6 separate regions of the Homo sapiens genome follow, and all the other regions are linked to region 2. The links are contacts of gene promoters, found by promoter capture Hi-C in blood cells and fetal thymus (Javierre and others, 2016). All regions are on one chromosome and are shown on one strand. The core of a region is centred on a gene start or on the middle of the fragment in contact, and the rest is flanking DNA. Distances in the headings are between cores, read along the strand shown.

The links. The method cuts DNA at HindIII sites, captures the fragments that hold promoters and counts their contacts. A CHiCAGO score of 5 or more calls a contact.
Region 1: a fragment that was not itself captured here is called in contact with the fragment with the promoter of CT62 in region 2 in 1 of 17 cell types (endothelial precursors); the score reaches 6.4 in endothelial precursors.
Region 3: a contact is called between a fragment that was not itself captured here and the fragment with the promoter of CT62 in region 2, in 2 of 17 cell types (M1 macrophages and endothelial precursors). The highest score is 5.6, in M1 macrophages.
Region 4: a contact is called between a fragment that was not itself captured here and the fragment with the promoter of CT62 in region 2, in 1 of 17 cell types (endothelial precursors). The highest score is 5.4, in endothelial precursors.
Region 5: a fragment that was not itself captured here is called in contact with the fragment with the promoter of CT62 in region 2 in 1 of 17 cell types (endothelial precursors); the score reaches 5.1 in endothelial precursors.
Region 6: a fragment that was not itself captured here is called in contact with the fragment with the promoter of CT62 in region 2 in 5 of 17 cell types (endothelial precursors, M1 macrophages, M2 macrophages and 2 more); the score reaches 8.6 in endothelial precursors.

The regions. Positions count from the first base shown.
Region 1 is chr15:71,651,007-71,655,104 of GRCh38, reverse strand. All of the region lies in intron 7 of THSD4 (thrombospondin type 1 domain containing 4), which reads right to left. Among named protein-coding and RNA genes, the nearest start is that of THSD4-AS2, 38 kb to the left of the region's middle. The HindIII fragment of the contact is 558 bases long and covers 1,763-2,320 here.
Region 2 is chr15:71,113,507-71,117,669 of GRCh38, reverse strand. CT62 (cancer/testis associated 62) reads left to right here and starts at 2,166. Exons shown (of 4, transcript NR_168260.1): 1 at 2,166-2,746; 2 at 3,907-4,039. THSD4 (thrombospondin type 1 domain containing 4) reads right to left here and starts at 2,199. Exons shown (of 18, transcript NM_024817.3): 1 at 1,972-2,199. RefSeq lists silencers at 1,806-1,895, 2,046-2,185, 2,216-2,275, 2,122-2,299, 2,336-2,385. The HindIII fragment of the contact is 2,227 bases long and covers 1,049-3,275 here.
Region 3 is chr15:71,724,280-71,728,514 of GRCh38, reverse strand. The region is part of intron 8 of THSD4 (thrombospondin type 1 domain containing 4); the gene reads right to left. Among named protein-coding and RNA genes, the nearest start is that of THSD4-AS2, 35 kb to the right of the region's middle. The HindIII fragment of the contact is 7,320 bases long and covers 1-4,235 here.
Region 4 is chr15:71,757,792-71,761,957 of GRCh38, reverse strand. THSD4 (thrombospondin type 1 domain containing 4) reads right to left here. Exons shown (of 18, transcript NM_024817.3): 15 at 3,883-4,056. Among named protein-coding and RNA genes, the nearest start is that of NR2E3, 51 kb to the left of the region's middle. RefSeq lists an enhancer at 1-730. The HindIII fragment of the contact is 660 bases long and covers 1,496-2,155 here.
Region 5 is chr15:71,784,955-71,789,049 of GRCh38, reverse strand. No RefSeq gene overlaps it. Among named protein-coding and RNA genes, the nearest start is that of NR2E3, 24 kb to the left of the region's middle. The HindIII fragment of the contact is 2,967 bases long and covers 145-3,111 here.
Region 6 is chr15:71,801,957-71,805,955 of GRCh38, reverse strand. No RefSeq gene overlaps it. Among named protein-coding and RNA genes, the nearest start is that of NR2E3, 6.6 kb to the left of the region's middle. RefSeq lists an enhancer at 1,122-1,191 and a silencer at 2,912-3,206. The HindIII fragment of the contact is 1,287 bases long and covers 822-2,108 here.

The DNA of each region.
Region 1 (4,098 bases), core at 792-3,291, 540 kb before region 2:
AACACGTTGTAGGAAAATTTTACACATCGCAAGCCATCACAGGAGAAATTGCTCAAGAATTACCCCCAATTGTGTGCCAAAATTAACCTGAATGAAATTTCCTGAGGGAAATGAGCAATCTGGATGACATATTTGGAGGTGAATTTCACAGGGAGGAGGCCTCTGTCCTTCACAGCAGGGTAGGCTGGTGCCAGGCATTCAGATAGTGGAGGTCCTGATTCCCTAATGGGAAGCAGATGTGTCTGTGTGTGCTCAGTAAACACATGAGATAGGGTAACCTCAACTGTTTGGCTAGATGACCCCCACAGGTAAAACAGCGTGCCTTAATAATCATGCTGGTAGAACAGTATGGGAGAATATTAAAATGATTAGTAGCTGACACCAATTTACTTATATTTACGGTGAGCTAATTCGTGGAAATGCATATGGATGCCAAAACGTTTATTCATGACATTCTGTTGAAAGAAATCCTTTGTATATGATAAATATCTTCCTGTTATTACTGTTAGGCATGTAGATCAATACCACCTTCCTGGAAAGCAATTTAGCAATATAGACCGTTTGATCCAGTAAATTCTTCTTCTAGGAATTTATGCCAGGAAATAAGAAATCAGGCCAACAGTTTCTGTATGAAGGGCTCATCACAGTATTGTTAATAAAAAATTGGAAACATCCTAAATGTTCAACATAAGGAAACAGTTAATCTATTCTGGGTGGATCTTTTTCCAGTTGTTATTCTCATTAAAATCTTCTAACACTTATGCCTGTAAAACTGACCTTCGATATAGTTCAGTAAATGTTTCCTGAGCCAACTTCAACTACGTGCCAATTCAGTGGTAGGCAGCGGAGACATGAAGGTAAAACAAACAAGGTTCCTATTTACAGTCTAAATCAGGGGTCAGCAAACTGTAGCTAGTAGGCCAAATCTGGCTCACAACCTGTTTTTATAAATAAAGATTTATTAGAACACAAACACTCCCATTTGTTTAGTTATTGTCTATGGCTGCTTTTGTGCTGCAACAGCAGATTAAGTAGTTGCAACACAAACAGGAAAGTCGACAAAGCCTAAAATATTTAGATCTGGCCCTTTACAGAAAAAAATTGCCAATCCCTGGTCTAAATTGAAAGTCAGACACAATCAAATCACTTCAATATTGTTTGTAAATGTCGAGTCCTGTGCAGCCAAAACCAAGGCTCAGGTAGATGCTTCCAAATCTACCCCTGACTGCCCTCATCCTGTATCATATACACCCACTTGATTTGTTCCAAAGTGACTCAATTGTAAAACAGAAGGCAGAGAGTTGTCTTCTACCACAGTAGTCTTCAACTTTTTTAAGTAGAAAAAAATATACTTCAAAAATAAAATCTCATGTGGAAATCCAAAGCTCCACTATGCAAAATGAGAAGAGCAGAACTGCTTTGGTTGAAGGACTGTCAGGGTTTAGAAACCTAGCTTCTCATCCTCCTGCCTGCTCTTCTTCCTCAAGGTGAGGGCTTCTCAACTCCAGCTCTACTGATGTTTTGGTCCTGAAAGGTCTTTCTTATGGGGGTTGCCTTATGCATTGTAGGATGTTTAGCAGCATCCTTGGCTTCTACCCACCAGATGCCAGGAGCATCCCTCTCAGTGTGACAAACAAAAATGTCTCCAGACATTGCCAAATGTTCCCCATGGGAGCAAAATCACCCTCAGTTGAGAATCACTGCTCTTTATTCCAAAGCTCATGGGACACCGAGGAGCACATGACAGATTCCCCAGAAAGCTTTAAAATGATGGTAGTTCCACAGAAGTGCACAAACAGCCTTTGTAAATGTCAGAGAAGCTAATAAGCAAAGAACACTTAATTATCCAGTTTCCAAAAATAGTTCCTTACTGCTATCAAACCTTCTCGAGTTCTTTAAGATTGCCTCTTGGCTTAGCTTCAGCAGGAGTATCATTATGTATTGCAAAGAGCACAGTACCTGCGACTTGGTAGGTGTTTAATAAGCGTTTGTTGAATGAAAGAGCAGCTGGTTGAAGAATCAAAAGATCAAAGTTACAGGACCAACCTGCTCTTCGAACTGGCTCATCTCTAAGGTCCCTTCTGGTGCCAAAATTTTTCTTTTAAAAAGAGATACAGCCCTGATATGAAGAATCCTGCCATGTTTAAAGGGAGGGAAATTTGCTGTATATACACAAAATTAAATTGGAAACAGGAATCAATGAAGATCAAATTGACGATGCCATTCATTTGAAGAGAAGAAATGGTCCATGGCATAAAAGGTATTTTGGCTTCCTAAATGAAAGCAATTGTAAAACGAGCGATCTGGTTTTAATCAAGCTTATGGCTGTCACTTTTCAGTACCTCATCCTAGTTCATAATAGGATAGCATCTTATCAAGGGACTCAACTGGAAGAAAATGTTGGCGCTCTTGTAGGATAAAACTGGGTAAGAATCAACTGCAGCTATGTTTACAAATCTGAAGAAAGGAGTCCCGAGAGGTAAACATATCATATTCTGTAAGATAATTACCACCTCCCCCAATTCCAACAAGGGTCATCGTTCTCTGGAGGGTGGGGATATCCCAAACTCTAAAATTCTAATGCTTTACTTTCATAATTTTCCTCCTCCATGGATTGAAATGGGGGAAGGAGGAGAGAGGCCTGAAATAGCTTTTGACAGTGATAATTGCTCTATTATAAAAGTAAGGTAACCATATTTTTGTATAGAATACTAGAAACCTCTAGACTTTCACTTTACTTTTAATGTGTAGAGCCGTATGGTGAATTGTGTTTAAAGAGATCATAATATGTCTGGCCAGATTTTATTGTAATTTTTTAGTGTCTCAGGAGGGGCTGGCAGCAGGAAAAAACCACGTGGGATGGGTCTGTTAGAAGCTGTGGTTTGGGGCTGATAAGGGGTCAAGACTAGGAAGTTCCTTGCAGAATGGAGCAGAGAGACACTGCCTACACCCTATAAGGCAGAGTTCTGGAGGCTAGATTATCAGCAAAAAGGCAATAGTGAGTTGGGTTGATGAACTCTGATCCAGGATGGAGGTTGCTTGCACACTGGCCTGATTTACAGGGCCTCCTGAGCGCAGATGGCCTGTGTCTACCAATGCAGGTCCCCAGAAGGCTCTCACGGGACCGTCCCCATGGCCAGAAGGCAATGATGGAGATTCACGCCGGCATCTTTGTCATTTCCTTAACACACAGCCAAATGTGCCTGTTTGCATTTTTCTCCACAAGATGGCACCTCTAAGCCTTTGCAAGAGGGTACTTACCTAAACAACTAGTTTAAGTACAAGAAGCAGTGATCCAACATTAACAAAAACAATGACTGTTGAGAAACACAAGAAGGGTGGACCCAGAGATGCAGGCTGACTGCATATTTACTGTGCTCTTATGTGCAAGTTTCTGCCATGTTGTTAAGGCATGATTTCATTTCTTAAAATTTTTTTGGAACATCAAAAAAAAAAAGGTGGGTGAAATATTCAAATCTTGTATTTCCAAAATGTTCAAGAAAAATGCTTTAAAATCTGTGTAAATGAGTTACAACATTGGGGAATATATAGGCTTCTTAGCTATCATTGGGCCATCTCCAGGGACGGCTGAGAGGACTGACTGGGTGAGTGGGACGAGATGATGAGAGAAAAGGCTGGCAACGAAAGTGTGGGATCTTAAATCCGAAGACTCTTGAGTGGGAAATGGCAGGCTGAAGAGCTCTTTTCAGAAGATGTCTGGCAAACACGGGCAATGGACTGGAGATGGAAGAGACTGGAGACTGGGACACACACAGACAACTGCATTAAGATGGGCACAAAGTGATGGAGGCCTGGACCAGAGAGATGAAATTAGAATGGAGGGCAAGGGCCCACCAACATCACGCTGAAGGAATGGCCAACTGGACTGAAGATGGATGTTCTACCAAAGGTGGAGTAAGGAAGACCAAGGTTCCTGGCCTGACAACCTGAAAGAATACTAGTGTTCTTGAGGCAGAAACTCCACTGGGGGGCAGGCCTTTGATGGAGCCATCTTACAGCAAGGGTCTGAGCATAGATCTTGATACTCATTAATTCATTCATCGAATTTAGTTATAATAATTCTCTCTCTCCCATTCT
Region 2 (4,163 bases), core at 917-3,416:
GAAAGCAACTCGTGGCTGGGAGTCAAGAGGGGAGATTATTACTGTAATTTGGACATGGTTGAAGGTGGGGGCAGTGGGAATGGAGACAGGTAAATAATTCCTCAGATATCACAAAAGAATGTGGAAGAGATTTTGCGATGAATGAGCTATAAATGTGGGGGACAGAATGGGAGTGTTGGGAACATTTAAACATTGAGACTCCCAGCAATTAGGATAAAAGTGGTACCATGGAGAGAAATGTGGGGGATGGAGAAGACGGCAATACACAGCCTCTGTGTAGGATAACTGATTGCAATCTCCACAAGTTTTTCGAGGCAAAAACAAAAACAAACTCCAAGTCAAAAATCTCCCCACCCCTGATCTTCCTCCCAAACTCTGGGCTGTATTTTTCTTTCGCTAACAGCCAGTAAGAAATATTTCTTTATGGCATAGGAGACTAAAAAGAAGGTAATGCCAAGCTGGTGCCCCGCCCAGTGCTGGGCACAGAGGAGATCACATGAGTTCCACTGGCCAGCCTCCCCACAAGAAACCAACCCAGTTGCTTATTCAGAAGGGGCTCCAGTATCCTGATCACCCAAACTCATTTCCCAGGCCCAGACCTCTGGGAAATCCCTGCTCCAGCCCTGCAGAGATTTATAGGAAAGTCCCAGGACGCCCATCTGCTTGCTTCCTCACATTAATTTCAGGGCTAGGATTTTGTTTTCTAAAGGAATTCAACTATGATGCCAACAAAAATCTATAGGAATTGAAGAGTTCCGTATTTTAAGTCACATTTTTAAAATGTTTGCTTCTTTGTATATTGAGACCCAGTAAGACCCTAGTAAGCCCAGTTACTCCATCACCTCCAACAATATTAATCAAGTAGAAGACACGCGGATTTTAAAAGCTGTGTGATCCTTGAAAAATCTTCAGACTGTCAGGGGTCCTGGGTGCCTCCAACTGTGAAAGGAGGGTTGGACAAGGCGATTCCTTAGATCTCTCTCGGGTATCTATTTCTCTAATTCCAAATTCCAACAGGCATCCAATGATTGCTACCCACGTCCAAGCTTTAGACTCATAGCCCGAAAAGGGCGAAGCGCAGCGTGGTAGAGATCGCAAAGGAGACAGGAAGAGAAGCAAGCATGCACTTTTAGTAAGACGGCAAAGGAGGCTGGGAGGTACGGTGCTGGGTGCGGACTGCTTAAAAAACTTACTAGACCACAAATTCCAGATACTTAGGTGGGCCCGAGAACGCCCTAAAATCCCCTTCCCAAGTGAGGGCTGATGTTATTTCAAATAAAAAGAAAACTTAACTTCCAGATCTGTAGAGCTCCAAGGTGAGCTCGCTGTGCAAAAGCTACTTCTGTAAGTGCGCCAAGGGGCCGCAGGTACTTAGGCTGCACTTGAGGAAGTGTCCAGAGTTGGCGGAAACAACCCATCCACTCGGGCTCCAGGCGCTCGCTGGGTTGCAGCAACTAAACTGAGACAGACAGACACACAGATCCGAGGCCCCAGGCCAGGACTCAAGGAGCGCTGACCGAGACTTGCCCGGCTCTCGGGCCCCAGGCGGGAGGGAGGCGAGGCTGAGGTGGGGGGCGCACGGGCTGGGTGTGCACTCGCCGGTCCCCTCCGACCCGACCCGGGGAGCACGGGGCCCCGACCCGGGGACGACTGAGGTGGATTGTCCCTAGAGTTTAAGACTGTCCCTAGAGTCGAGGGTGGAGGGATGAGCGCCGGCGCCAGCACAGAGCAAGACTCCCAGCAAGGAAGAGAACCAGAGAAGGAGGCGCAGCCGTCCGCACGGACCAGGCGCGCGCTGGCTCCCCGAGCCCGGAGCGGCGCAGCCCGCGGCGCCCCGGACACACCCACTGGGTAGCCCGCGCCAGCCCGCCCCGCCGGCCAGAGAGCGGGAGCCGGAGCCTGGGCAGCGGAAGCCGGGTCGGGGCCGCGCGGGCGGCGCGCAGGGGACGCGGGGCGCGCGGCTCTGCTCACCTGGCGGTCCGCGTCCCGGAGCGACCGGCGGCCGCCTCGCCTCGCCTCGCCCCCGCGTGGTTCCCGGCGCCGGGCAGCCCCGAGCGCCGCCGCATGGACGGCCGCCACCGCCGCCCAGCCGCCCCGCGCCCGCCCTGCACGGGCTCCCGCTGTGCCCCGATTCCGCGTCGGGCTGCGCGGGCGGCCAGCGGTTCAGGCGCGCGCGGAGAGCTCTGGCTCAGAGTTTGCGATCCGAGAGCGGGATCCGCGCTCCCTCGGTCCTTCCTCCCTCCCCTCTTGCGGCCTCCCGCTGTCATCTGGAGCCGCTCCTGCCGCCCCCTGGCGGCGACCGCGGGAAGGGCCGGCCCCCATCCGCACCCCTGACCCCGGAGGTCAACAACGGGATGGTCCCTGGGTCCCAGGGGAAGAGACATCACCCAGTAGGAGGGAGTACGGTCTAGACAGAGGCCACGAGGGCGGGAGGGGGCGAGAGTGGAGAGTGGCCCAGCTGGCCAGGGTCGTCTAAGTGAGAGGAAAAGGGAGAGGGCGGTTGAGACCAGGCCCTGAATTCCGCGTTCATCTTATCCTGAGGTCTGTGGGGACCTGTTGAAGGACTGGGGCAGGGGACGGACGCGGGCATCCTTCCATTTGGAACAGCCATTCCGGCAGCATCAGGATGGGGCGGAGGCAAAGCGGGGAGTGGGCGAGGCAAGTGGTGCTGTAAACCTGTGCGAGAAGGGGGCGGTGACTCTAAGGGCAGGAAGGAGCCCTGGTCACACACACACTCCCACGCAAGGTAGGACGCGCTGGGCTCCTTCTGAGGCCAAGGGGAAAGGACAAGAGCCCTCCAAATTCCAACGGGGGTTAGACAGCATGGGGAGGAGACACACACACCCTGACGGCCAGAGCCGTTCGGGATTCTTTCTTGTCTTATTCAGAGTAATATTTTGTTGGGGAAAAAAAAGCCTGCTGCAAAAAAATAATAATTCTTCTCATTAGTAATGATAAAAATCAAACTTTGATCCCTTCATTTTACGAATTGGGAAATTATTGCCCCCAAAAGGGCATGACCAAAGTGACGCGTTTAGTTAATGGAGGGAAAATTGCTAGGGCCCCGTTTCTTGAGTCCTAATTCAGAGCCAAATTCTTTACATTCGAGCCAAGGTGTTCAGAGCTGGGAAGGCAGGAAATAGAGTGACTGTGAGGAACTGTCTCTTCTTTCCCCAGAGCAGGGAGGGGGTGACAAATATTTGAAGAGGCTGTCCAGATACAGGCGTTTCCCTAAATTTCAGTCAGCCTGTTTGTTTATCGCTGCCTCTAAAGCTTGCCTGCAGGGGTTGTTTTGAAAGTGCAGGTATACCGAGAGGACAATGAAGGAGGTGGCAGAATGCAAGCTCCCTGCCCCAGAGCCAGGCAGCACCAGGGCTGGGTGCAGAGCGCTTCGTGGGAGCAGAAGGGAGCTCCCAGGGAAGATTGTCCTCCAGAAAAAAAAAAAAATTAACAAAAGGGAAAGAGGCTACTCAAGAGATTAGGCCAAAGAAAGAAACACCATTTTGAGCACCGACTACTGGCCCGGAGCCTGGCAGAGCCAGTTCTGATTGATTCAAGAGCTGGTTCCAATGGGATGAAATAATTCCACACTTGATCAAACAGATTTTGATGGGAGGCACCTGGTGTAAATGGGATTAGATTAATTCTGAGTGTCACGAGTCTCATGGGTCCAAATTAAGTCGATCTAACAGCTCTAGTAAATACTGGCCAGTTTAAACCATTTAGAACTGATTTAAAAAAAAAAACCTGCGCAACTTTAGAATGTACTTAATGTCACTGAATTATACACTTAAAAATGGTTAAAATGGAAATTTTTATGTTATGTACATTTTACCATAATTTTAAAAAAGCAAAACTAATAAGATTTGTTCAAACAAGATTGATTTATTCATTCATTCGAGACAGGTATTCAGTGCCGAGTGTGGCCTTGGTGCTAGGATTCAAAGAGGAAAGGAAGAAAACTTTCCATTCTAAAAGAAACTCCACGTGAGGCGAAGAAGATGAAATATAGTCAGAAAACCATACCAGTAGGTGGTAGGTAAATGCAGAAGTATTTAAGAGCTCATACAGGAGTACCTGCCTCAGGACAGGGAATCTGAGATGCTCTGCAGAGCTGGATCTTAAAGAACGGAGTGAGTTCATCACATAATGTCTGGGGCGAA
Region 3 (4,235 bases), core at 1,531-4,030, 610 kb before region 2:
CCCAGGGTGTGCACAAGAAACAGAACTGACTCCCCCAGTTTCTGGCTTCTTCATTCATCAAGGTTTTTGACAGGATCCACTATGTGCCAGGCAATGATCCAGGCCCTGGGGCGCCATTAGGCATCTAGATTACATCCCCTTGGGCTTAATCACTGCTTCAACCCACCCTAATCCCTTCTATCACTTGGACTTAGTATAGAAATGTAGGGTGGGGGCTGGTTAGGTGAAAAGGATGTGGAAAATGGGAGGGAAAGGAGAAAGAGGAGGAAGAGAAAAAAGGGGGGAAGGGAAACGTATTTATATTATATACCATTATCTAGGTGAGAGGTTGCACGCTGGCAGCCCACGAGCTGATTTTGGCCCATAAATGGGTTTAGTTTGGCTTCTGTAGTGTTATTAAAAAAAATAACTGAGCCCAAATTTAAGAATTGAAATATTTCACATAAAAAATTTAAGAGTTCTGGCTTCTCTTATAAACCAGGAAGACATGTTAACATTGGCTTCACACTCCCTCATGGCAGCAATCGGCTGGAGCCCAGGATGGCTGTCCCTCTCAGATGGACCCTATATGCTCTGATTTGCCCCAGTCCCCACCCCTCCCTGTTGCCCCCCAACACTGAGGTTAAGTCTCAGTTTATTACCCCTTTATTTATGAATATGGGTGATTTATATCATTTATCATACTTGCATTGTTCTTTTTCTTATCCAATTTTTTCTCCCCTCCCAGCCCTCCCCTTTTTTTTTTGAGACAGGGTCTTGCTCCATCGCCCAGGCTGGAGTGCAGTGGTGTGATCCTGGCTCAGTGCAGCCTCAACCTCCTGGGCTCAAGGAATCCTCCTGCTTCAGCCTCCTGAGTAGCTGGGACTATAGGCATGTACCACCATGCCTGGCTTGTGTGTGTGTGTGTGTGTGTGTGTGTGTGTGTGTATATATATATATATATATATATATATATATATATTTTTTTTTTTTTTTTTTTTTTTAAGAGATGGGGTTTTGCCATGTTGCCCAGGCTGGTCTCAAACTCCTGAGCTCAAGCGATCTGCCTGCCTCAGCCTCCCAAAGTGCTGGGATTACAGGTGTTAGTCACTGCACCTGGCCCAGAATTTTTCTTATAATTCTCTCTACTTACATGTCTACTACAAGTGGCAAAGCTAAAGCTAAGAGGGTCACATGATTTTCTCATGTACCTGGTCAGCTTCATTCACTTCTATGACCTTCCTGAGTTCCTGGGCATCTGAGGCTGTGGGCTGTGTTAGATACCGCACGTGCACTGTCAAATTTAATCGTCACAACATTGCACAGCAGATGTTATAATCCCCATTTTTCAGAGTGGCTCAGAGATGGGAGGGAACTTGTTCAAGTTCATGAGGCCCATAGGGGTCAGACCTGTGATTTCTAGTGTGTACTCAGGAGGCGGGTACGAAAGGAGAAGGGGGCAAGGAACAAGGTGTTGGAGTTAACAGGAGAAGAAAGGGTGGCATCTGGAAATAGAATTTCTTCAGCTACCCTTGGCACCTGGAAACCCACAATCCAAAGGAGGACTGGTTTAGAGAAGGTACCTTTTTTTTTTTTTTGAGATGGCGTTTCGTTCTTGTTGCCCAGGCCGGAGTGCAATGGTGCGATCTCGTCTCACTGCAACCTCTGCCCCCTGGGTTCAAGCAATTCTCCTGCCTCAGCCTCCTGAGTAGCTAAGATTACAGGCATTCACCACCATGCTCTGCTAATTTTTGTATTTTAGTAGAGACGGGGTTTCACCATGTTGGTCAGGCTGGTCTTGAACTCCTGACCTCAGATGATCCGCCTGCCTCAGCCTCCCAAAGTGCTGGGATTACAGGCGTGAGCCACTGCGCCCAGCCGAAGGTCCTGTTTTAAGTGCTATGTACATAGTGGACCTGTGATGGCCACTGGCTCTTTGCACCTTCGGTTTATAGAATTCCTAAATTTAACTTTTTATAATTTGTTATGGAAAAATGTATACATATGCAAAAGTGGTGTGAACAATATAATAAACCCCCATGTACCCATTGCTCAGCTTCAACAAGGATCAGCTCATGGCTTCTCTTGTGTCACATTGCAAATATGTATCCTTCAACTTTTCAGTAGGTACCACTAAAATATAAGAACTTTTTCTTAAACTCATTTTTTCAGCCGCGTTCCTACAATGGGCCTTCCCAGAGCTCTGGCCTGTAGAATCAGAAACTGCACAGAGGGGCTGGAGTGGCCCAAACTCCAGCTGGGCTCCCCCTGCAGACTCCACACTGGGCTGGCTGGTGCCATGGCTGCAGGGAGGGCAAAGCTGCAGACCTTTCACTACTGAATTACAAGATCAATTCAGCTTACTGAGTAGCAAAAAAGGGTCAAGGGTGGAAACTGAGGAAGAACAGATTTGGGGCTATTCTCTATGAAGAATCACACTTCTTCAAAAGTGGTGCGGCTGGGCACGGTGGCTCATGCTTGCAGTCCCAGCACTTTGGGAGGCTGAGGCGGGCAGATCACCTGAGGTCGGGGGTTTCAGACCAGCCTGAACAAATGGAGAAACCCCGTCTCTGCTAAAAGTACAAAATTAGCCAGGCATGGTGGCGCATGCCTGTAATCCCAGCTACTCAGGAGGCTGAGGCAGGAGAATTGCTTGAACCTGGGAGATGGAGGTTGTGGTGAGCCAAGATCGCACCATTGCACTCCAGTCTCAGAAAAAAAAAAGGAAAAAAAGTGGTCCATATAATGTCTACCATTTTCTCACTTCCCACTAATTCCTCAACCATCTCCAATCTGGCTTCTGCCTCCATCATTCCATTGAGGAAATTTAAAATTAGCTCACCAAGACCCCCATGTTGCTAAATCCAATGGGTGTTTCCCAGGCCTCCTCTTTTCAGATGTCTCGGCAGCACTTGGCACTATTCCATCCTATTTGAAACACTCTCACCCCAGCTTCTGGGAACCACACTCCCCTTGCTTTCCTCCTGCTCTCAGGCTGCTCATTTCTGTTTTCTTTTCTGTCTCATCTTTCTCTACCTGGCTATTAAATATCAGAATTTCTTAAGGAATAAGAGTAGACCTGCTTTGGGCACTATATTCCTTTCATGAGCAATTTCCTAGGACCATGATTTCAACTACCATATGTGAATGACTCACAAATTTATGTTGACAGGCCAAACTTTGCCTCTGGCCTTAGAATTTCATATGTAATTACCTCCTTGCCAGCTTTAGTCAGATGTCTTGTCTAAGGCTGAACCCAACCCCGGCCTCAGTGTTTCTTATCTCAGTAAATGGTACCACCATCCATGTAATCAGAAACCCAGGAATCATCCTGGATACCTCCTCTCTTCCTATCCCCCCAAATCTAACCCGTCATCAAATCTTATTTAATTACCTCCTTGCCAGCTTTAGTCAGATGTCTTGTCTAAGGCTGAACCCAACCCCGGCCTCAGTGTTTCTTATCTCAGTAAATGGTATCACCATCCATGTAATCAGAAACCCAGGAATCATCCTGGATACCTCCTCTCTTCCTATCCCCCCAAATCTAACCCGTCATCAAATCTTATTTAATTACCTCCTTGCCAGCTTTAGTCAGATGTCTTGTCTAAGGCTGAACCCAACCCCGGCCTCAGTGTTTCTTATCTCAGTAAATGGTACCACCATCCATGTAATCAGAAACCCAGGAATCATCCTGGATACCTCCTCTCTTCCTATCCCCCCAAATCTAACCCGTCATCAAATCTTATTTAACCTCCTCCGCCTCTCTTCATGTCCACTGTCATAATCCAGGGCCAGGCTACCATGAGATCTCATCTGGACTAATAAAATATCTTCTAATTGATCTTCCTGTTTCTCTTCTGTTCAGCTAGAACAGTATTTTCAGAATGTAGATTAGATTACCAACGATGGCTCAAAATTCTTCAATGGCTTTCTATTGCTCTAGGCAAAAAAGACTGGGCGTAGTGCCTCACGCCTGTAATCCCAGCACTTTGGGAGGCTGAGGCTGGCGGATCACGAGGTCAGGAGATCAAGACCATCCTGGCCAACATGGTGAAACCCCGTCTCTACTAAAAATACAAAAAATTAGCTGGGCGTGGTGGTGGGCACCTGTAGTCCCAGCTACTTGGGAGGCTGAGGCAGGAGAATGGCGTGAACCCAGGAGGCGGAGCTTGCAGTGAGCCGAGACCACGCCACTGCACTCCAGCCTGGGTGACAGAGCAAAATTCCATCTTGGGGGGAAAAAAAAAATATATATA
Region 4 (4,166 bases), core at 576-3,075, 640 kb before region 2:
TGGAGATCAGGATGGAGGCCTCAGGACAATGAGTGATCAGCTGAGTTACTGGCCAAGAGCAGCCGGGCTGGCCTGACTGTGCCAAGGAAGAGGAAGCAGTGAGTCATCTGCCAGAAGCATTCGTGTCAAAGTGCAAAATGAAGTCATTTTCAGGTATTCAAGGGCTCAGAAACCTTACCACTTACAAATCCTATTTGAAAGACTTCCTGGGTTATAGTCTTTAGCAAAATAAAAAAGAACCAGGAAGAAGACACAGGACATAAAAGAAGGAGCTGGCAAAGACACCAATAAAAGCCGTTATTACTAATGGATGCCAGGTGTCTTTTTGGAATGATAAAAATGTGCTGGAATTGGATAATGCTGAATATGGTTGTACAACTTTGTGAATTTACTAAAAACCAATGAATTCTATATTTTTAAAGGGTAAATTTTATGGTACGTGAATTATATTTCAATAAAAAAATCTTTGGGGGGAAAGCAGAAAACTATTTTAAAATTTAAATCTATATTTTCTATAAAATTAACATTAATCTGGAGCTAGATCCAGATAATATCAACATCTTTTTGGAGATATTGTAGATTGAGAGAGTGGAGGTAAATAAAAGGGGAAGGCTTCTATTTTCTTTTAGGAGAGGATGTGGTCACTGATAACTTGACACTAATGGAGACATAAAAGTTTAAAATTCTGTGCTAAAAATTTGAATCTTATCACAGAAGAAATACCACTAGAAGATTTATAACTTCCAAAATGTTGGAGGGGAAAAAATGGAATTAAGAAAACCTGACTAATAACAAGCATGTTGAAAGGAAAGAGGAAAGAAGCAAGAAAGCATGAAAATAGAAAACACAAAATAAGATGGTAGGGAAAAGTCCAAACATATAAGTGATTACAATAAATATAAATGGTTAAAATTTAACTCTTAAAATACAGAGGTTTATAGATTGGGTAAAAATAAAGACAAAAATAGTCCTGAAAGACATACCTTAAAAATACATAGAACGTTTGAAAATTAAGAAATTGATGAAGATACATCAGGTGAAAATCAACAATAAGAAACAAGATGGAGTAATTCAAATAGTAGATAAAATGTAATCCACAGAGAAAAGCACACATGAGAAAAAGTAATATTTAATAGGGATAAATGCTTTCAGTGAGAAGTGATGGCAATTAGGCATGTTTCTGTACCTAAAGAATTCCTGCAGTTGCACTTTTGTGGATCACTGATTCGCGAAGAGATGAGAATAAATATATCTATTGCAATAAATGCAATCAATAAAATGCAATCCAGACCCAGAGGCAGACAAAATGGCTGCTCCTGAAGACTAGAGACTGTGACAGATCTCCCCGGAACTAAGACAATCTAAGGTTGCAGTAAACTCAGAATTGATAGAGAAGAAAGGAAATAATTCTGGGCATAAATAATAGACTTGGTAGACTCTCATGAGTAAGAGTTGGGCTACTGTGCCTCCAGAGTAGAAAAAGACTCCCTAAGCTTGATATACTCCTAGTTAGTTTCCAGGGATCTGGGAAGCAGCAGAAATGGAATATATTCCTTTCTTGGTGGAGTCAGAAAGACTCTAAAGCCAGAAACTCCTTGGTCTCTGCCTCTCCATGGACTTAGGTCTCATTCTCTCAGACTGGCTTTTTGCACAAGCCTCAGTAGGGCCACTGCCAGCCCTTGAGCTCACAACCTCTTAGTGAGTCTCTTCCCTAAAACACAAATGAAATGTCCTTGGGAAGGATTCTGTGGCTCAGCTTGGGTCACACATCCACCTGTTGGATCACATGTCTACTCCTGGACTAATCACTGTGACCAGGCTGGTGGGGTATTCGAAATACCAACTTTCATTCAACCCATATGGTGAGAAGGAACATTTATTTTTATATTCTGAAGCCAGTTAATGTTTAAAACTTACCTTTCAAGAAATAAGCATGCTCTTATTTCATTTTCTTTGGGGATAATGTCAAATTCCTAGGGCAGGGAATTTCCAGCAGGCCCTGACATCCTTATAAATCCAGAACCAAAACCCTTGGCCACATTCAATTGTATCTTGACCCTTTTGGACAACAGGGCAACAAATCCTTTGTTTCTAATCTTAGCAGAAATAAAGGTTGTCTTTGCCAGGGTTCATACCACCCTTGGTTCTTTAAGCTTAGGTCTAAAGTCAATAGGAAGCCACAAGCAAAAAAGGCCCTGAATCCTGCTCCCTTCTCTTCTAAGAATGGTAGACATATGAGTTCGATTGTACTGCTTATCTTCACGTGTGTGACTGTAATGATCTGATATGATTTCACACATCTATGGATATTTGGTATAATTGGTGTCCTATATACAGTCGCTGCTGAATTATCTTTGGGGTTTAGGTCCTATGTATTTTACTACCAGTAATGAGATAGAAATAGCTGGCAGAAAAAATAAACATAGAGAGATGGGAACCAATATTTATTAAGTGTTTCCCATATCCCAAGCAATGGGTAATTCTCTTTATGTATAGCATCTTATGAAAACCTCGTAACAACCTTAAGAGGTTGATATGATTACCTTCATATTCAGATGAGGAAACAGGCTCAGAGAGGTTAAATCACTCACCTAGAGCCAGAAAACTCATGAGAAGTCAAGCTGGGATCAGTTAGCAAATGTGTCTAACTTTGATATTCACCAGAGTAGCACTGGAAGTACTTGAATTCTTTCTGAATTCTCTATATTTTAAAAAACATTAAAGGGAATTTGAATAGAAAAACATTTCCCTATGCTTTTTGCATAAAAACTCTACATTGAAGTGGCAGAGATGATAGGGTTTGAATATTTTCACATTCTATTTCTCACTTGCCATTATACCACATGCACTTTCACATCTTCCTAACGATCGCTGTCATTGTCACCTTATATTTTACTGAGTTATGATATGCCATAATATCTGTAACCATCCTGCTGTCATGAACATCTCTGTTGAAAAAGGCTGTTTTTTTTCTTTTGTTAATTATTTCCTTAAAATGAATCCCCAGGAGTGGGGTGACTGGGTTAAGGCAAAGGAACATTTTTATGGTTCCTGACTTTTATTGCCAAATTGCTTTCCCAAGGGCTTGTGTCAATTTACAAGGATAAGGCAGTGCATTTTTTTCCAAGGTCAGTTTTTAATGCTACTTAAAAGAAATAAAATTCTATATGGAGCCAGAGGTCTTGATAATGTGTAAATCATGATCATAAGCCAAACAGTCCTTGGAGAACCAGCCAGCCCTGGGAGCCAAATGCTAAGTGGCTCAAGAACTCCAATACTGATGATAATCAAACCAAGGCAGTCATTTCCACATTTTCTTAGTGGGGTTCACGTTCAATTTTGGAAGAGTGAGGGAAAATGTAATTCATCAATTATTAAAGTATTCAGTATTATTTATTCTTCATAATGAACAATTCCAACTTTTAAAATTTCTGCTTCTGATACTGTCAAATACAGAAAAACTGGCTTTATTAACAGGAATAATAGCAGCAGCCACCATTTATTTTGTGTCAGGCACTGTGCTACATACTTTATGTACACAATTTCATTTCTTCTAAAAATAACCTCATAAGGTACCATCACTGCCAGCATTGTATAGATGAGGAAAGCATGCTAGGCCATAAGCCCCCTGAGGGCAGAGATATTTGTGTTGCTCACTGATGTAACCCAAGTACTTAGATGAGCACACCGTAGGTGCTCAATGAATACTGTTGACTGACTGAGGCTCCAGAAATATAAATAGCTTCTCCAGGGTCACAGATAGACAGTGGCACTGCTGGGATTCAAAGCTGGGACACCTGACACAAAGTCCTGGTTCCTAACCCCTCTGGTATGCTGCCTTTTGCCTGACACAGGCAGACATACCCAGTTCTGGCCACTCACCTGACTCCAGCTCCCGGCAAACCACTCCACCTTGCCCGTGCAGGGTCCGTTGTCACATGGGGTGGCCTCTGCCGGCCGGTTGTTCCCACAGCCCTCCAGGGGCAGGCTGCTGACATGGTTGGTCATGCACACCACCGAGCGTGTCCGCACTCCGGCCCCACACTCCGCTGAGCACTGTGAGACAGGGGAAGGGCACATTAGTCAGGAGGCCCTGGCAGCTGCTGAAGCCACTTTCAAATGATGGAAAGGAGGATGGAATGCTTCATTTTCCTGCCGTCTGTTTC
Region 5 (4,095 bases), core at 379-2,878, 670 kb before region 2:
GGCACAGAGTGTGTGCTCAATAAATATTTGCTGAATAAAGGGAGGATGTACGACCTAAACCCATTTTAAGGAGTAGTTCCTCAGTGGGTCAAAGATGAACAGACACTGCGGTGTTTGAACTTTTGTTGTCCCTTCCTAGAAGCTTTTGCTTGGTAAGGGTGCAATAATCAGACATCCCAGGTTGTCTCACCCACATCCTTCCTGTCTTTCTTCTCTGCTAATGGAACCCCAATTGGTCACAGCCAAGCATAACAATCCCTTCTCTGTCTTCCCAGCTTCCTCTGCAGCCACAAATGGCCATGGAGCCCACTTTGGCCAATAAGATGTAAATAGAAGTTTGTGGGACGTAGGATGGGGCTCTGGGAATGTATTTGGTTTATTGGCAAATGGAGATACACAGCTGCAATGGCCCTTCCTGCTTTCTTCCCTGAAGATGGACATGATAGGTGGAGCAGGAGAAGCTGGCTTGCAACCATGAAGAAGAGGCCAAGAGAGCTGCAGAGAAGCTGGCCCTGAAGCTGTTGAGTTGCAGACCTAATCCAACAACTGCCTCCCTCTGAACTTCTTTTTTTATATTTTGAGATGAGGTCTTGCTCTGTCGCCCAGGCTGGAGTGCAGTGGTGCAATATTGGCTCACTGCAGTCTCTGCCTCCTGGGTTCATGCAATTCTCCTACCTCAGCCTCCCGACTAGCTGGGATTACAGGGGCATGCCACCATGCCTGGCTAAGTTTTGCATTTTTAGTAGAAGGACTTCCCGGCCAGGTGCGGTGGCTCACGCCTGTAATCTCAGCACTTTGGGAGGCCGAGGCGGGCAGATCACCTGAAGCTAGGAGTTCAAGACCAGCCTGGCCAACATGGTGAAACTCCGTCTCTACTAAAAATACAAAAATTAACTGGGTATGGTGGCATGCACCTGTAATCTCAGCTACTTGGGAGGCTGAGGCACAAGAATCGCTTGAACCTGGGAGGCAGAGGTTGCATTGAGCCAAGATCGCGCCACTGCACTCCAGCCTGGGTGACAGAGTGAGACTCTGTCTCAAAAAACAAACAAACAAAAAACCCACCAACAAAAACAAGTCCCCAAGTCAGTGCAGTCAAGGTTTCTCTTTTGTGTGGACAGCTGAGTGCCTAAATACACCAATTATCTAGTAAAAACAAATAAATCACCTATGCAGGAGCACAGAGGCTTAAAACCACTTCAGAGTCCCTAAGCGTCATTGGCCAAAAGGTGAACTAGTAGATTCAGACCTAGCATCTAGACTTCATAGAAGACTGTTTTATAAAGAAAGCAAATGACTCAGAGGTCACCTGCTCATCTTCCCGGTGAATATAGGAAACCCCTCAGCATTCTGAAGGGTGAGGTGCCTCACTTTTCAGTGCGGTCCTTGGACCAGCAGCATCAGCATCACCTGGGAGCATGTTAGAACTCAGTCCCCACCCCAGACTAACTGTATCAGAATCCGAAATTCAACAACATCCCCAGGCAATTCATATGCACATCAGAGTGGGACATACTCTTCTCAGTGTTTTCAGCCTTAGCTAGAATTCCCTGGAGAGGTTTCAAAACATCGATGCCTGGTCCCCACCCTCAATCAACTGAAGATCAAAATATCTGGGAGTAGGGCCCCCATATCACTTTTAAAAGAAGTTCCAGTTGATTTCATTAGACAGTGAGGCATAAGGAAGACCTAAGCCAGACTGTCCCACTTAATAGCTTGGTCACATTACTTATTCTCTTTGGGCCTCAATTTATTTGTCCATAAAATGGCCGCACAAGAGTGCTTGCTTCATGAGTTGTTGCGAAGATGAAAACTAAGTGCTGTAGAGACTCGGACGATACCTGACATCGAGTGGTGCTCACCCAGTCAGGGTTCCCCAGCCTTGATGAGGGCAAGGATCACCACACAGATTCCTGTCCCCTCTCCTGGGACCTCCCCTCCTCTCCACTGGCTCCACTGTCCACTTTTGGAAGGCTTGTTCTTTGCTTCGTTAACCCATTCTAATATTGTGTCTTCTTTCCTAGCACTTTGTAAACCCGCTTCTCTCTCTTTTCTTGGTCAGAGAGACCAAGGCAACTGTTCCCGATAAAGTGATGTAAGGCGCCTTATTAAATTGCACTTGAGTCTACTAAGTATTGACCATTCCTCCTCCTCTTCTCCTCCTCTTCGTCCCGCCTCCTCCTTCCCTACTCCTCCTCCCCTTCCTCCTCCTCCTGTCCGTCCTCCTCACCCTCCTCCCCTCCTCCTCCTCCCCTCTTCCTGCCCCTCCTCTCCCTCCTCCCCCCCTCCTCCTCCCCTCCTCCTTCTTCTTTCTTTCATCTTTCTTCTCCTTCTCCTTCTTTTCTTCCTTTCCTCCTTTCCTCATCTTCTTCTACAGGGTCTTGCTTTGTCACACAGCCTGGAGTGCAGTGGTGCAATCAGAGCTCACTGCAGCCTTGAACTGCCTCCTGAGTAGCTGGGGCTACAGGAATGCACCACTTCGCCTGGCTAATTGTTATTTCATTTTTTTTAGATATAGGGTCTCACTATGTTGCCCAGGCTGGTCTCAAGCTCCTGGGCTCAAGTGATCCTCCCCCTTCAGCCTCCTAAAGTGCTGGGATTCTTTATGGGTATGAGCTACCATGCTCAGCTAGCCATTCTTCTTAAACCATAATTGATAAATGATTCATTGAAAAAAATTCAAACAATTAAAAACATTTGTTTGTGCACATAATTTACCTTGCTTACCTTCAAGGTTGAATGAGCACCCCAGTTAATTCTTATTAGGTAAATCTGAAAAACACAGCGAAAAAAGTTAGTTCTCTTTCTCCCCATCCCCTTTTTGTACTTTATTTCTGCCACCCACAACTTTCTATTTTAGGAAATTTCAAACCTCAGAGAAGTAGTGTAATGGACACCACATACCCTTCACTAATATTCACCAAAATACATCTTACCTTATCTGTGTGCATGCTTTCTCCATACACACATGTGCATGTGTGTGCACACACACACGCACACACTTTTAGTGACCCATTAGAAGGTAAACAGCAGATCATGACCTTCCTGGCTAAGTACTGGAGGAACATGTACTCCTGTTTGGCCAAACACCATCCTCACGTCCAAGAAGCTTTACACAGATTCAACAATGTCATTTTTTTTTCTTTTTTGAGACAGAGTCTTGTTTTGTCGCCCAGGCTGGAGTGTAGTGGCATGATCTGGGCTCACTGCAACCTCCACCTCCCAGGTTCAAGTGATTCTCGTGCCTCAGCCTCCAGAGTAGCTGGGATTACAGGTGTCCGCCACCAGGTCCAGCTAATTTTTGTGTTTTTAGTAGAGACAGGGTTTTGCCATGTTGCCCAGGCTGGTCTCGAACTCCTGGGCTCAAGCAATCCACCCACCTTGGCCTCCCAAAGTGCTGGGATTACAGGCGTGAGCCACTGTGTCCGGCCAATGATGTCATCTTAAATACAGCCCATATTCAAATTTTCCCTCTCCTAAAATGTTCCTGATCACTTTTTTGGGGGTCTCACTCACTCTCTCTCTTTTTTTTTTGAGACAGGATCTCACTCTGTCACCCAGGCTGGACAGCAGTGGCTCGATCTCGGCTCACTGTAACCTCTGCCACCCAGGCTCAAGTGATCCTCCCACCTCTGCCTGCTGAGTAGCTGGGATTACAGGTGTGCACCACCACACCCAGCTAAGTATTTGTATTTTTGTAGAGATGGAGTTTTGCCATGTTGCTGAGGCTACTTTCGAACTTCTGAGTGATCTGCCCACCTCGGCCTCCCAAAGTGCTGGGATTACAGGCATGAGCCACTGCCCCTGGCCCTGTCTCTTAAAGTGTCTTTTCCCATTGTTCAGCCTCTCTGATTACTGGAAACGTCTCATTTTGAACCAAGTCTGACTCCCAGTCACATCCCTGCCCTGGTCTGCTGGAGGAGTCCGGGTTCTTGTCATCTGTCCCTGACAGTACTTTAAATTGTCTGAAGGTTGAAGACAGCCCTCCTTCCAGAACCCCTCCATCCTGGTCACCATCCTACCATCCTCTGGGCTTTTTCCAGACAGTCAATAAACCTTATGACATGTGGTCCCCGGAACTGGAGGCAGAGGGTC
Region 6 (3,999 bases), core at 216-2,715, 690 kb before region 2:
CTTTTTTTCTCTCTTTCTCTTTTTGAGACAGGGTCTTGCTCTGTCACATAAGCTGGAGTTCAGTGGCGAGATCACAGCTCACTGCAGCCTCAGTCTCCTGGGCTCAAGAGATCCTCTCGCCTCAGCCTTCCAAGTAGCTGGGACTACAGGTGCACACCACCATGCCTGGCTAACTTTTTAGTTTTTCATAGAGATGGGGTCTCCCTGTCTTGCCCAGGCTGGTCTCGAACTCCTGGGCTCAAGTGATCCTTCTGCCTCAGCTTCCCAAAGTGCTGTCACCATGCCTGGCCCAGGATTTATTTCTTAAACAGTCACCCACCCCCACAAATTCCTGCCCACCCCCCGAATTCCTGCCCCCCACCCCCAAGTGTCTTCACCTTCTTTGAAGCATAGCTAGTGGGGAGTGCACAGGCCCTGGAGCTGAGGCCTCAGCCATCCACACTCCAGGAAACTATCCCTTGGAAAATTTTACAAAGATTTAATTATATGGATGTACCCTGCAGCAATTTTCTAGACAACTGGCTAAATAAGTTCTACTCCCTCTGTACAGTGGAATCCCATGCAGCCATTGCAGCTGGTGGTGTTCCTATATTCATTTACATGGAAATATGTCCACAATGTCTCAACTTCAAAGCCACTTACAAAACAGACATGGATAGTTTGATTTCATGTGGCCCAGGGGAATTTCTGGCTGAAGATCATGGGATGCTTGTCTCCTTGGCAGGACCTAAATGAATCAATGGTTTTCTTTCTAGAGCAGGGAGTGGAAGGTGCAGGGCTCCGAGAGGCAGACACCAGCGGGAATGTTTCTCAATAAAGCTTCTTTCTTTTCTTTTCAAGATAACATTTAGAAATGATCAGATATTCCCCTGCACAGTTTTCCCAGCCCTTGACTAGTAAAGTCTTTTTCCCCTTGAACTCTTCTAAAGGTCTAAGCAGGGCTGGCGGGGGCCCTGCCCTGTCCTGGGACAGGCAGACAAAAAGCAGCCTGTCTGGAACATGCACCATCTGTTGCTCCACCCTGGGTCACCTCTTCCTCCTCTGTACCCGAGATGACTGACAGGAAAGACCTCCAGGTTAGCTTGGCTTGACTCCCAAGCACCATGCGAGGTGGCTGTCTCAGTTCTGTTGCAGAGCTGTCACCAGAGGCCACCGCAGACATTCTCCCCACAGGCAAATATTTCTGTTTCATTTGAATGTTTAATAATACACATGTATTACAGCTCTAACCTGGATAAAATACAGTTCTTTGTATTTTAAAAAAAGAGACTAATTTGAAATCAATATTACCTATACTAATAATGATAGGAAATATTTATAAAGAAATTCAGTCTTTATGTGTGAAAATGAGAAGCTCCCCATGCTTTCATTTTCTCTCCCTCTTCACCCAAGAGGAGGACCTAAATCTCTAGCGGCTGCTCTGGCCTGAGCCTCCGCTGCTTGGAACAGCTGCAGCCCCCAGTGCAGAGGCCGCCCGTCCACCTGCTGCACCAGGTGTAAACCCTTTAGTTGCTGGGCCATGGGCAGATCTGGAGACCCTGGGAGGGGCCAGAACACTGGGGGCAGGCTGGGGCAGGAAGCTATTTGAAAACCAGTATAGAACTATTTTTAAACGTTTAACAACAGGCACAACCACACCAGGGTACACTAGCTGACTGACCAGTTCATTTATGCTGGTGGTGAGGACACCATGGAGGAACAGCAGTCAGGGCTGTGTCCAAAAAGTTATCTGGCTCTCAGGCTCAGAGTATGCATTCTTTTTTCATTTTCTTTTCTTTTCTTTTTTTTTTTTTTGAGACAGGATTTCGGTCTGTCACCCAGGCTGGGGTGCAGTGTGGCGTGATCATGGCTCACTGCAGCCTCGACCTTCTGGGCCCAAGCAATCCTTCTGCCTCAACCTCCTGAGTAGGTGGGACCACAGGTGTGTGCCACCACACCCGGCTAATTTTTAATTTTTTTGTAGAGATGGGGGTCTCCCTATGTTGCTCAGGTTGGTCTCGAACCCCTGGGCTCAAGCGATCCTTCTGCGTTGGTCTCCAAAGTGCTGGGATTACAGGGCGTAAGTCAGTGTGCTTGGCCTAGAATTATAATCAAGATAAAATAAAGCTTTTTTGTCTTTTTAAAAGAGACGGGTTAATTTTTAAAAAATACGAGCTGTAATAATAATGGAAAATATTTATTAAGAAATTTTATGTGCCAGACACAGTTCTAAGCGTTTATATGTGTAAACTCATTTAATCCTCACGACAACACAATCAGATAAGCATTGTCATTATTATCCTTGTCTATAAGCAGGCGCCTGTAGTCCCAGCTACTCGGGAGGCTGAGGCAGGAGAATCACTTTAACCCAGGAGGCGGAGGTTGCAGTGAGCCAAAATCATGCCATTGCACTCCAGCCTGGGCAACAGAGCAAGACTCTGTCTCAGAAACAAACAAACAAAAAACAAAACAAAAACTTCTGTGGAAGTCGAATTATTTTGAAGATAAAATATTTAAAAACAATATATACAATTAGAATATATTAAGGGGTTATTAGTTTGTTATGACAATGGTATTGTGGATATGTTTAATTAAAAAATAATCCTGCTAGAGATATACTCTGAAGTATTTACAGAAGTGAGTCAATGTCTTGGATTTGCTTTTAAAGACTGTTTTTTTTTTTGTTGTTGTTTTTTTTTAATAAACGAATGAATGAAAAGAGGGAGTAGATGAACTGAGGACTGAAGGTGATAGTTATTGATATGGGTGATGGGTACATGGGTGTCATGGACCTTTTATCTCTAATTGCTTTTGTGATTGAAATGTTAGGTAATAAGTTTAAAATATGTATACACATACAAGCTGCCTACACGAACAATGAAACAACAGGTGCCACTGATGACTTTAGACGCTCTACAGGCTCCTCAGCTTGGACCCTCCCCACCCTACTCTGTCTCCACTGCCCATCTTCGCCTTGCCTTGCAGCTTTGGAGGCTCTAAACTGAACCAGGTGACGCGCGCGGCAGGAAACCCCCGGTGCTACTGGGGAACTGCCGGGCCAGTCGGTGGACCAGCGCCCCCTCCTGGAAGGACAAAAAGCGCAGCGAGAGGGGCCGGTGCCACCTTGCGCTTCCTCTGACCTCGAGTGCTGGCTCTCTCCTTCGCGCTTCTGGCTATACCCGGTTCTGGCTCGGCTCGGCCTGTTCTTTCCCTCTTTCTCCAACCGACTCCTCCTCACACTTCAAGACCAGCTCCAAGGTCTCTCCTGAGAGCACGCACTCTATCATCGCTCCTCACATCCCAGGCCCTATCAGAAACAATCTTACGCCCTTTCTTTGCAGTCACCCGGCTCCTCCAATGTGCACAGAAGCTTTGTGAGACCAGGGTCTTGTCGATCTTGTTCAACGGCATGACACGTAGAAGGAGTCTGATAATTATTTGTTGACCGCCTGAGTGGACGTAAGCTTGCCCTAGTCCTGGCAGCCTGCGGCGGCTTCGGCTTTCTGCCCTGCCCGGGGCCCTGTGGGCATCTCTCGGGCATCCTCCCGGGACCGGGTCCCAGCAATTGCAGGTCCCAATGGTGTCCGGAGGCCCGGAGTTGGTTCTTTCCGGTGGGTTCTTTGTCTCGCTGGCTTCAAGAATGAAGCTGCGGACCTTCCCGGTGAGTGTTAAAGCTCTTAAAGGTGGCACAGACCCAAAGAGTGAGCAGCAGCAAGATTTACTGTGAAAAGCGAATGAACAAAGACTCCACTGCACCAAACTGGACTCCCACTGGTTACCAGGGCTGGCTGGGGTGGCCAGCTTTTATTCCCTAATTTGTCCCCGCCCATGTGCTGCTGATTGGTCCATTTTGCTGAGCACTGATTTGGTCCATTTTACAGTGTGCTGATTGGTCCATTTTACAGAGTACTGATTGGTCCATTTTATAGTGTGCTGATTGGGGCATTTTACAATCCTCTTGTAAGACAAAAAAGTTCTCCAAGTCCCCACCTGACCCAGAAGTCCAGCTGGCTTCACTTC